Regions from separate parts of the Homo sapiens genome. Here regions 2, 3 and 4 are each linked to region 1. Evidence: promoter capture Hi-C in human tissues and cell types (Jung and others, 2019). All regions are on one chromosome and are shown on one strand. Each heading gives the region's core, a stretch centred on a gene start or on the middle of the fragment in contact. The rest is flanking DNA. Distances are from core to core; before and after follow the strand shown.

The links. The method cuts DNA at HindIII sites, captures the fragments that hold promoters and counts their contacts. A contact is called where the count stands out against the background at its distance.
Region 2: a fragment that was not itself captured here is called in contact with the fragment with the promoter of AHDC1 in region 1 in 2 of the 25 tissues and cell types used here (lymphoblastoid cells and neural progenitor cells).
Region 3: a contact is called between a fragment that was not itself captured here and the fragment with the promoter of AHDC1 in region 1, in 1 of the 25 tissues and cell types used here (lymphoblastoid cells).
Region 4: a fragment that was not itself captured here is called in contact with the fragment with the promoter of AHDC1 in region 1 in 2 of the 25 tissues and cell types used here (hippocampus and lymphoblastoid cells).

What each region holds. Positions count from the first base shown.
Region 1 is chr1:27,602,823-27,605,522 of GRCh38, forward strand. AHDC1 (AT-hook DNA binding motif containing 1) reads right to left here and starts at 1,322. Exons shown (of 9, transcript NM_001371928.1): 1 at 1,284-1,322; 2 at 906-1,041; 3 at 575-672. RefSeq lists an enhancer at 1-13 and silencers at 497-576, 1,127-1,666. The HindIII fragment of the contact is 10,400 bases long and covers 1-2,700 here.
Region 2 is chr1:27,084,396-27,087,175 of GRCh38, forward strand. No RefSeq gene overlaps it. Among named protein-coding and RNA genes, the nearest start is that of SLC9A1, 69 kb to the right of the region's middle. The HindIII fragment of the contact is 7,329 bases long and covers 1-2,780 here.
Region 3 is chr1:27,029,287-27,032,041 of GRCh38, forward strand. LOC101928391 (a long non-coding RNA gene) reads left to right here and starts at 2,472. Exons shown (of 8, transcript XR_007065559.1): 1 at 2,472-2,543. The HindIII fragment of the contact is 5,333 bases long and covers 1-2,755 here.
Region 4 is chr1:27,045,736-27,048,592 of GRCh38, forward strand. All of the region lies in intron 5 of LOC101928391 (a long non-coding RNA gene), which reads left to right. Among named protein-coding and RNA genes, the nearest start is that of TENT5B, 34 kb to the left of the region's middle. RefSeq lists an enhancer at 569-1,069. The HindIII fragment of the contact is 8,236 bases long and covers 1-2,857 here.

The sequences.
Region 1 (2,700 bases), core at 72-2,571:
CCTCCGGGTCATTAGGTCCCCGCCCCTCAACTCCCCGAGAGCCAGTGGATCCTAGGGATTTGGGGGTTGGAGGGGAGGGGCTCCTCCCTCCGCAGTCTCCCCTTTTCCCAGCGCCGATCCTAAAATCCAGCCTTGTTCTCCGCTCCCACGGTCCCCCCTTCATTCCCCCCCCCCCCACATTCTCAGCAAGCTGGAGAGCAAATTGCAGTTTTAAATCCAAAGGCGGAGGGAGGGGGAAGGAGGAGGGGGCGCGCGGCAGCGCTGGGCGCGCACCTCGCCCCCGAGCCGGGGGAGCCGCGGGGCGGCCAGGAAACCCGAGAACCCCCCCTCCCCGCCCCCCCTCCCCGTCCACCTCCCCCTCCCCCTTCCCGGCGCTGCCTGCCAGGCTTCGAGCCGAGCCCAGCCGAGCCGCGGGCCCCGGTGGAAACAAAGACCGATCGCACCGCGGGCACCGCAGCCACCGGGTCCAGCGGACCGGACCGGGGGACGCAGGCCCCCCCCGTGCGCTGCACAAAAGAGCCTGGCCGGCCGGTCCCCAGCGGGGGTCTGGGGCTGGGGAGGAGGCGCCACTCACCGGAGTGCTGGGCTGCCGGCTCCGTGGGTCCGAGCCAGGCGAGGGGTTTTGGGGGACGTCTGTCTTCCGGCGGTGGCAGCGACGCGGGCGCCCGGCTGCTGAGGAGAGGAGTCGTGGAGGAGCCCTGAGCCGCCCGCCGTCGCTGACAGCATGGCTCGCGCCTCGGCTCACATTCTCCGCCGCTAACTCCGCTGGACACGGCCCCCCGCTCCCGCGGCGCCCCCCCACCTCGATCACTCCTTCGCTCTCTCTGCGCCCCCCTCGCCCTCCCGCCGCGCACACACTCTCCCAGCCCTGGACACCCCCGCCCCCACCCCCCCCAATAGCAAACCTGGGAGGGAACGCGCCCCGCGTAGTCCTCCTGCTCCTCCTCCTCCGCCCTCCTCCCTCCCGCTCTCTCTGGCTGTCTGTCTGTCTCTCAGACTGTCTCTATTTCTCGCTCTCTCTGCCTTTCTCTGCTCTCCAAGCTGGGTGGGAAAAGGAAATGAGGACAGAAAGCAGACGCTGGCTTTGGGTGGTGGTAGCTGGATTCCCTCTCTCCCTCCCTCCCCCTCCTCCCCTCCCTCCTCCTGCCTTCTGCTCTCTCCGCTGCGAGCGGGGCTGAGCGCAGCCTGGCGGGTGGCTCGCTCTGCCCGCCCGCCCGCCTGTCTGTCTGTCTGGTCCGCCTCGCTCGCTCCCTCCCTCCGTCTCTCGCCCTCGCCCTGCCTGCCTGCCTCTCTCCGTCTCCGCCGCCGCCGCCGCTGCCTCTGCGAGCTCGCCTTACCTTCGCCGCTCACCATCCGGAACCCCAGGGGGGAGCGCGCGCGCGGCACGCCGGGACTTGTAGTCCCCGCCCCGGCCGCTCCGCGCGCGGGGAGGGCGGGGCCGCGCCGGCTGCTCCGACGGCGCGGCCAGGAGCCCCGGGGACCCCGCGCCTGGGGCTCGTCTGGCTGGAGCGCGTCCTCGTTTACCAACGGGCGAAGATCCTCCCCAAGGGTTAAGAATGGTCCCTGTGTTCCTTGTCTCCACCGGGGGGCTCTGGATCGAGCGGAGGTTGCGGGTGGGAGTGAAGGGGCGGGGTCTGAGAGTGGAATGGGAGTGGAATAGGGAACCAGGGGATTAGCCAAAGGGGCTGCGACTTTCTGGGGCGTCCCAATTAAATGGGAGGGGGAGAGGGCAGAGGAGAGGACCGGCTCTCTCAATCTGGGGACGTTATCCTTTTCTGAAAAGGTTTCTTATTGAGTAAAGCTCAAGTATATATGGCGGGAGGGCTGCTGGGGCGGGGGAGCGGGGGAGACCCAGCCAGCGCTGCTTCCTCACTCAGTGACCCCTCCTCTCAAACTCCGACCTCGGTTTCGCCCTTGCAACTCCCAGCTTTCCTATATGTCCAAGGGCGGCGAGGGCTCAAAAGTCCTGGATAATCCGCAGATAGAACACACACACCCTTTTCCGAATTCTGCTGAGCATTTGCGTTGTGTCAGGAAGCAGGATTCAGATTGAACGGTGCTGACCTCCTGCCGCGGCCGGGGGCTGGGCTCAGCACTTTCACCTACCTCCTCTTCAGGTCACATGTGTTCTCCAGCCCCTGCCTAGCCTATCCCACAGATGGGAATGTGCGCTGCTTGGGGGCCTTGTTACCGCCCCCGGAGATGGCTGAACTGCTGCGGTAAAATAGTGCTGTTATTTCCATTTTAGAGATGGGGGCACTGAGGTCCAGGTTCTCCAGTTAGCAAGTGGCTGAACCCAGCTGGATTTGAACCAGGGTCTGACTAACTCCAAACCCCACAAGCTTAACCCCTGGGCTATGACAAGGAGTTGTGACTCCCTCCATTTCTGTAACTGACCTTCTCTCCCTGTGTCTGTGTGTCCTTTCTTGGCACTTCAACAAATGTTAACTGAGGTATGCAGGGCTTGCAAGGGACACGGAGATGAATAATGCATAGTGGCTGTCGTGTCCTGTGTCCTAGGTGTCTACCAACGCCGGCCCTGACTGGCCCTGCGGCGGTCCCACCTCACTGGACCACCTCATCTGTGTGTCTGATGTTCCACACCCTGTGTCTGCTGGCCTTGTCTATCTTGCTCCAGGTCTGAAGTTCCTAGAGCAGTGCCTTTGTCTCTGGCCTACCTGTTTCTGACTCTTCCTTTGG
Region 2 (2,780 bases), core at 254-2,753, 520 kb before region 1:
CTGTATTTGGGGACAGCTTTGTGACAGCACCTTAGCCTCATCCCCAACTAACAGAGACCCATTTAATAATGCTCCCGTCCAGGGATATGTCCAGTACATTAATCCTAGTTCTCAACTTCCTCCAGTCTTAACCTCTCTTTGGGTCTCTTCTAGGGTCTATGGTTTATCATTATCACTATCTCTTTGCCAATACCTGGAACTCCATAACCCCTCTTTGACTTCATCTTATTTGCCTGGCAAAACCCATCTGTCTTGGTGCCTGCACTCAAGTATCTGAAGATCACTGACAAATTCGTACAGCTGAGCTGAGCAGTGCCACTGTTCTCAAACATCAAAGGGACTCGACACGGAAAACTCTACTGTTTTTCTAACACGAACAGTTTCTTTCTTCTCCTCTTTCTCAAGGTAACTATTTCACTTCTTTTCCTCTTTCTTCAAATTTCCTATTTCCCTTTCTAGATTCATTCTCATTTGATTTGGTAACCTTGCCTGACTATTTATTGAGAGAATTAATGCCTTCAGTCACACAGACACCTTTTCATCTTTCCTCCACAAAATCTGCAAACCCATCTGCTTCTTCCTACTTTGGAGATGTTGTCCCTACTTCTCTCAAGGGTGTCTTTTTTTTCTCTCTCTTCTTTCTTCTTTTCTTCTTCTCCTCCTTCTTCTTCCCCTTCTTCTCTTTCTTCTCCTTCTTTTCCTCCTTCTCCTTCTTTTTAAGACAGGGTCTCGCTCTGTCACCAAGACTGGAGTGCAGTGGTGCAATCATGCCTCAATCTCCTGGGCGAAGCGACCCTCCCACCTCAGCCTCCTGACTAGCTGGGGCCACAGGCATGGGCCACCACCCATGCCTGGCTATGTTTTTTTGTCTTTTGTTTTTTGTAGAGACACAGTGTCTCTATGTTGCCCAGGCTTGTCTTGAACTCCTGGACTCAAGAGCTCCTCCTGCTTCAGCCTCCCAAAGTGCTGGGATTACAGATGTGAGCCACTGTGCCTGGCCTCAGAATGTCTTGATTCTGAATCTCTACCTCTTTTACTTTATCAAAGTGTTTCCTTCTCTACTGGGTCATTTCCCACCACTTTAAAAACATTTCTAATATCCACTCTCCACCCCCAACACACACACAAACAAAACAAAAGTAAACTAATGGCTGTATTAGTTTTCTATTGCTGTGTAATACATTACCACAAACTTAGTGGCTTAAAAGAACACACATTTGCCAGGCGTGGTGGCTCATGCCTGTAATCTCAGTACTTTGGGAGGCTGAGGTGGGTAGATCACCTGAGGTCAGGAGTTTGAGACCACCCTGGTCAACATGGCGAAACCGTCTCTACTAAAAATACAAAAATTAGCCAGGTGTGGTGGCGCGCACCTGTAATCCCAGCTACTTGGGAGGCTGAGGCAGGAGAATCTCTTGAACCCAGGAGGTGGAAGTTGCAGTAAGCCGAGATTGTGCCATTGCACTCCAGCCTGGGTGACAGAACGAGACTCCGTCAAAAACAAACAAACAAACAAACAAACAAACAAAAAACACATTTATTGTGTCACAGTTTCTGTGGGTCAGAAGCCCAGCATGTTTTGAGTCCTCTGCTTAGCATCTTACCAGGCTGAAATCAAGGAACTAGCCCAGACTGTGACCCCAGCTGGGGCTCAGGGTCATCTTCCAAGCTTATTGGTTGTTGCAGAATTCAGTTTCCTGCAATTGGAGGACTGAGGTTTCTACTTTCTTGCTGGCTGCCAACAGGGGCCATTCGTAGCTCCTAGAGGCCACCAGTTGCTCACTGACATGTGACCCCCTTCACAAGAGGACAGTTTGCTCCTTCAAGGCCAGCAGTAAAGCGCTCTGTAAAAGGCTCACCTGATTAGGTCAGGCCCACCAAGATGAGTTTCTTCTGATTAATTCAAAGTCAACTGATTAGGGGCCTTAATTATATTTGCAATATTCACCTTTGCTATATAATGTAACCTAATCACAGCAATATCCCACCATACAGGTTCTGCCTGTATACCGTCAAGGGGAGGGGATTATACATGTCTTGTACAACAAAAGGCAGGAATCTTGGAGGCCATCTTACAATTCTGCCAACCACAACACACACCATACCACACACACATCACACACCACATACACCTCACACACCACCCCCACACACCACAAAGATCACACACACCACACCACACACACACCACATACCACACAGCCCACACACTGCACCACACATACACACCACACACATACCACATACCCCACATACCACACACACAGACACCACACACACCACATCCATACACCACACCACACACACTACACACCACACATCCCACATACCACACACACCACACACTACACACATACACACACCCCACACACCCCATACACACCCTGCACACCACACACATCACACACAGAGACACCGCCTATCCCACACACACCACACACCCCACATATCACACCACACACACCACATCCACACACACCACACACACACACAGCATACACAACACCCATAGACACCACACACCACACACACACCTCACGTACCAAACACCACACACACAACCACACACCACACACCAAACACACACCCCACACATACCTCACACCACAGACACACACCACCCCCCGCCACACAACACACACACACACACACACACACACACACACACACACACACACACAGCAGGTGCTCTGGACCTATCTGTCAAATTGCATGGGGCAGCTGAGCCTCAGTTTTCTTTGAGAGTCTCACTCTTGTCACCCAGACTGGAGTGCAGTGGC
Region 3 (2,755 bases), core at 207-2,706, 570 kb before region 1:
TCTCAGGGCTAGCATAAAAGACCCAGTGTGTGAGCAGTGTCTGGTATGTAGTCAAGGCTGGCTTGCCCTCCTCAGAAACTGCCAATTTGCTAATTTGGTACAAGCTTCAGACAGGTGTGGATTTCGGTGGTGCGGGGATACAGGGGAGTGGAGAAGGAAGGTGGAAGAGAGAGGGACACCAGAGAAAGCAGACGAGGCCCTGAGAGAGAATCTGCAGGGCCAGAGGCTGGAGTCTGAAGACCAAGATAGGCACAGAAGCCTGAGCTGTCCCTGGCACGATGTGAGCAGGGCAGATGTTCCAATCTCCCTTCCCTCAGGTGTGGAGCGGCTCATGAAGCCCCTCCCTGTCTAGAAGCTGGTTCGGCCCATCTGATCCGACCCTGCAGGGAGGCAGGCAGAGGTGAGTGGTGAGAAAGCCCATTTCACAGGTGAAGAAACTGAGGCTCAGGAAGGTGGCGATTTGCGTCTCTATCTCATCTCGCCTGCCAGGGTAGAAGCTCCTCAGATTCAAGCGCCATTTAGTTCCTGCTTCTGTTTCCTCAGAGCCATGCTGTTGATTGAAAACAGGAGTGAGTGTTCCTCAGTGGGTTCCCAGCCCCAGCAGGCCTCACGCCCCCTTTTGTAACAAGTATCTTGCAATGCCCCTTTCCTATAATGGAATACAATTCATAGATTATGTGGTCTATTTATACACTACTAATTTTTTTTTTTTTTTGAGATGGAGTTTCACTCTTATTCACTCTTATTGTCCAGGCTGGTGTGCAATGGCGTGATCTTGGCTCACTGCAACCCCTTCCTCCCGGGTTCAAGTGATTCTCCTGCCTCAGCCTCCCAAGTAGCTAGGATTACAGGCATGTGACACCACGCCTGGCTAATTTTTTTCTTTTGTTTTGTTTTGTTTTTTTTTAAGATGGAGTCTCACTCTGTCGCCCAGGCTGGAGTGCAGTGGCGTGATCTCGGCTCACTGCAAGCTCCGCCTCCTGGGTTCACGCCATTCTCCTGCCTCAGCCTCTCGAGTAGCTAGGACTACAGACGCCCACCACCATGCCCGGCTAATTTTTTTTGTATTTTTAGTAGAGGAGACGGGTTTCACTATGTTAGCCAGGATGGTCTTGATCTCCTGATCTTGTGATCCGTCCGCCTCGGCCTCCCAAAGTGCTGGGATTACAGGCGTGAGCCACCGCGCCTGGCCGACGCCTGGCTAATTTTTGTATTTTTAGTAGAGACGGGGTTTCACCATGTTGGCTACGCTGGTCTTAAACTCCTGACCTCAGGTGCGCCTCGGCCTCCCAAAGTGCTAGGATTACAGGCGTGAGCCACTGCGCCCAGCCTATTTATTTATTTATTTTGAGACAGAGCCTCGCTCTGTTGCCCAGTCTAGAGTGTAGTGGCTCAATCAAGGGTTACTGCAACCTCTGCCTCCTGGGCTGAATCTATTCTCCCACCTCAGCCTCACCAGTAGCTGAGACTACAGGTGCACGCCACCACACCTGGCTAATTTTTTTTTTTTTTTTTTTTTTTTTGTAGAGACTGGGTCTCACAGTGTTGCCCAGGCTGGTCTTGAATTCCTGGGCTCAAGTGATCCGCCCTCCTCGGCCTCCCAAAGTGCTGGGATTACAAGCATGAGCCACCGTGCCTGGCCTTGGCCTTGTCTGTCTTTTTTTTTTTTTTTTTTTTTTTTTTTGAGACGGAGTCTTGCTCTGTCACCAGGCTGGAGTGCAGTGGCGCGATCTCGGCTCACTGCAACCTCTGCCTCCTGGGTTCAAGCGATCCTCCCTGCCTCAGCCTCCCGAGTAGCTAGGACTACAGGCGCACGCCACCAAGCCCAGCTATTTTTTTTTTTTTTTTTTTTTTTTTGGTATTTTTAGTAGAGACGGGGTTTCACCACGTTGGCCAGGGTGGTCTCCATCTCTTGGCCTCGTGATCAGCCGGCCTCGGCCTCCCGAAGTGCTGGGATTACAGTCGTGAGCCACCGCGTCTTTTTAAACCTGTAAATACTCAGGCCTACTCTTGTAGAAAAAAGGCTTCTCAAATTTGAAAGTGCCCGGGAGCCACCTGGGGCACATTCCTTGGAATGTGCAGGTTCTGAGTCAGCAAGTCTGGGGCTAGACCTGAGAGCCTGCATTTCTAACCTGCTCCCAGGTGGTGCCCAGTTGTTGCTCCTCAAGCTGGGAAAAGATGACCTTGGCTGCAGATCTGAGGGGCTGCGAAGCCCAGGGCGTCCAGTTCCCGAGGTGCCCTTCCGCCCAGAGCCGCCCTCTCCCCAGACCCCAGTGAGGGTCAGCCCTCTCCCAGGCCTGCCCTGATCGCTGCCCAGGGAAGCGCCCGCCCTGCCGCAGCCGCCCAGTCTGATTCCTGGCATCCACGTGGCAGGGCGCCCGCTGCAGCGACAGCAGTTCCCACGGGAGGAGTCGCACCGGGAATGGGCCGCGGGGGAGGGAGAGAGTGGGAGGGAGTGAGGCCCCGGGAATTGTCCTCTGAAGGGGCGGCGCATGGGCGTCCCCCGCCCTGCTAGCCCCATCTCCTTCCCTGTCCCTGCTTGGGTGAGTAAATCCCTAGTGCTTTGATTCGCTTGCCCCTCCTTCCGTCTCTCCCCACTTCCTCCTCGCTCGCTCGTTCCCTCTGCCTTCAATCTGAGCTGGGCCCTTGCAGTGAGGAGCCCACGGTTACCTGGCTGTTCCCTGCCCGCCACCTCCCTCCAGGTGGGAGGCTTATGGAGGGCTATTGCTGATCTGGGCAGGGCAGGGGCCGTGGT
Region 4 (2,857 bases), core at 209-2,708, 560 kb before region 1:
GCAGGAATCATTTGCTTTGTGATCTGTTTTCCTCAGATTGCCTCTATCCCTACAGAGCTATAAAGCCAATCAAAGACAATCAAAAGCACACAAGCACACACCCCTAAAGAATCAGATCATCACTAGAGGGTCACAGCCAACACCCGGCACTCCTCTGAAAGGAACACACCCAGAAATCTCTTGCCTTTTCCCAGGCTTTGATATATTTTCTTGGCCGACTCCTGGAAGGATCAGGATGAATCAGGTAGCAGCCATTGCTGAGCAGGCAGGCCATCTTAGAGCTTGGTCCTCCTCTTTGCAAAATCTTCCCCATTCAGGCGGTAACTTCTAGCTGCAGCCAGGGTCAGTAACCGCCAGCAGGTGGCGCTGAGGCAAAAATCTCAGCCGCACGTGGGGAATTCTTTGACCCTTGCGGCCCCGCAGGAGTCAGGTTTCCTGACTTCAGGATTTCACGGGACCCTTTCTCCCCACCCCCTCCCCACCTTCTTCTTCTCCTCCTTCTCCTTATCCTTCTTCTCCTCCTCCTTCCTTCTTTTTTTTTTTGGTTGTTGTTGTTTAGTTTTTTGAGACGTGGTCTCGCTATGTTGCCCAAGCTGGTCTTGAACCCCTGGGCTCAAGTGATTCACCCGCCTCGGCCTCCCAAAGTGCAGGGATCACAGGCGTGAGTCACCGCGCCGGGCCATTCCCCCTCTTTTGGGTCAAGTTTTCTCATGATCACAGGGCTGCTTCCAAGTGAGCTCATCTCCAGCCATAAATTCAGCCATTCACTGATTCAATCAATCTTTGATTTGACAAAGTGTCCAGGCCCCAAGTCGTATTCCTGAGGCTCTCCAGGAATTCTTTGTGTCCAAGAAGCAGCCCTTGTCTCTGCTTGTCCGGCTTTGCTGCTCCCAGAAGGAGCAAGGCCTCACTCACCTTTGAGGATGAATTCTGCCATCTCAGGGCCCCATCCCATGCTGCCCCCCCCCCCACCCCTGCCCTGCCTTTGGGTGTATCCACACCCCCCTGGAAACCTGGAAAAGGCACCTCAGCAGAGGATGAATAAAAAGCTTTACTTCTTTCTCTCCTTTCAAGCTCTCATTCCTCCCCCCCCTTTTTTTTCTTGAGACAAAATCTTATTCCGTCACCCAGGCTGGAGTGCAGGGGTGCGATCTCGGCTCACTGCAACCTCTGCCTCCTGGATGCAAGTGATTCTCATGCCTCAGCCTCCCGAGTAGCTGGAATTACAGGTGCACACCACCACGCCCAGCTAATTTTTGTATTTTTAGTAGAGACGGAGTTTCACCATGCTGGCCAGGCTGGTCTCGAACTCCTGACCTCAGGTGATACGCCTGCCTCAGCCTCCCAATGTGCTGGGATTACAGGTGTGAGCCACCGCTTCCGGCTTCATTCCCATTTTACAGGTGAGAAAGTGGCTACTGCTCCTCTGGGTCTGTCCTGGTCGTCGGGGAAGGCTGTATCTCTTTGCTATACTCGGCTTTACTCAGGCCAGAGGATGGCTGAAGAGCTGTCCCCAGGCCTCACTGTTTCCCTGGCCTTCCCATAAACTCACATTCATGGAGGACTGCAGCATAAGAAGCACCTCCTATGCGCTTCCCAAGGGCCTGGAAAGTTCTCCAGAATGTAGTGGGAATAACTACAAGCACAGTCCCATCCCAACTCAGCAGGCAAGGAGTGCTGGGGTGACCACAGCTCCCTCCTCAGCTGAGACCCTGCCCTGGGGTAGGGGCAGCAGGCCAAGGGGAAGGAGGTGGGCAGGCAGGGTGTGCAGGCCATCATGGTAGTGAGGTCTGCACCGGGGCCAGGGCACACATCTGTCCCACTGGGTGCTGGCTGGGCAGTGTTTCCCTGGCTCCTTGGCTCTTCCCTGTATGCTGGGTGCACAATTGTGGGGCATCAGGGAGAAAACCTTCCTCTTCTAGGTTAGGGTCTCTGCCCTCTGCCCCGTGACTGTGACAGCAGCAGGAAAGAAGTCACCACAGTGCTCCTGCGTCTCAGGGATTCCCTAAAAGGAGAATCAGAGAAAAGAGTAGGAGTCCTTGGGAAGCAGATCCTGAGCAGAAAGGTCCCTGGTCTCTGGCCACCTGAGGCCTATAGGCAGTGAGATCTGCTGGGAATGAAGTGGATGGTGGGGTAAATTTGAAGGCAGGTAGGGGAGAAGCAGCACCAGACCCCCAGGGCCCGGACAGGCCAGCGGGCTTCCTGCAGTTTGCACGACCTTGCATCTCCCTTCCTTTCCTGGGAAGCATGTGGTCTGATAGCTTCCAGGATGACAGCTTGTGCTGGGGCCTGGACTTCTCTGCTCTGACAGATTCAGACATCTGTCTTAGTTTGTTTTCTGTTGCTTACAACAGAATACTGAAACTGGGTAATTTCTAAAGGAAATGAATGTATTTTTAAAGTTCTGGAGGCTGGGAAGTCCAAGGTCGAGGGGCCACATCTGGTGGGAGTCTTCTTGCTGGTGGGAGCTCTCTGCAGACTCCTGTGGGAGGGCATGACGTCGCATGGTGAGGGGGCTGAGTGGTGTCCCTCAGTGTCCCTTCCTCTTCTTATAAAGTCCTCAGTCCCACTCCTATAATCACCAATTAACTCATTAATCCATTAACCCACGAGATTAATCCATTCATGAGGGCAGAGCCTTCATGATCCAATCACCTCTTAGAGGTCCTACCTCTCAATATGGCCACACTGGGGATTACATTTCGGCATAGGCTGGGTGCACTGGCTCATGCCTGCAATCCCAGCACTTTGAGAGGCCAAGGTGGGCTGATTGCTTGAGCCCAGGAGTTCCAGACCAGTCTGGGCAACATGGTGAAACCCCATCTTGACAAAATATAAAAAAATTAGCCAGGCATGG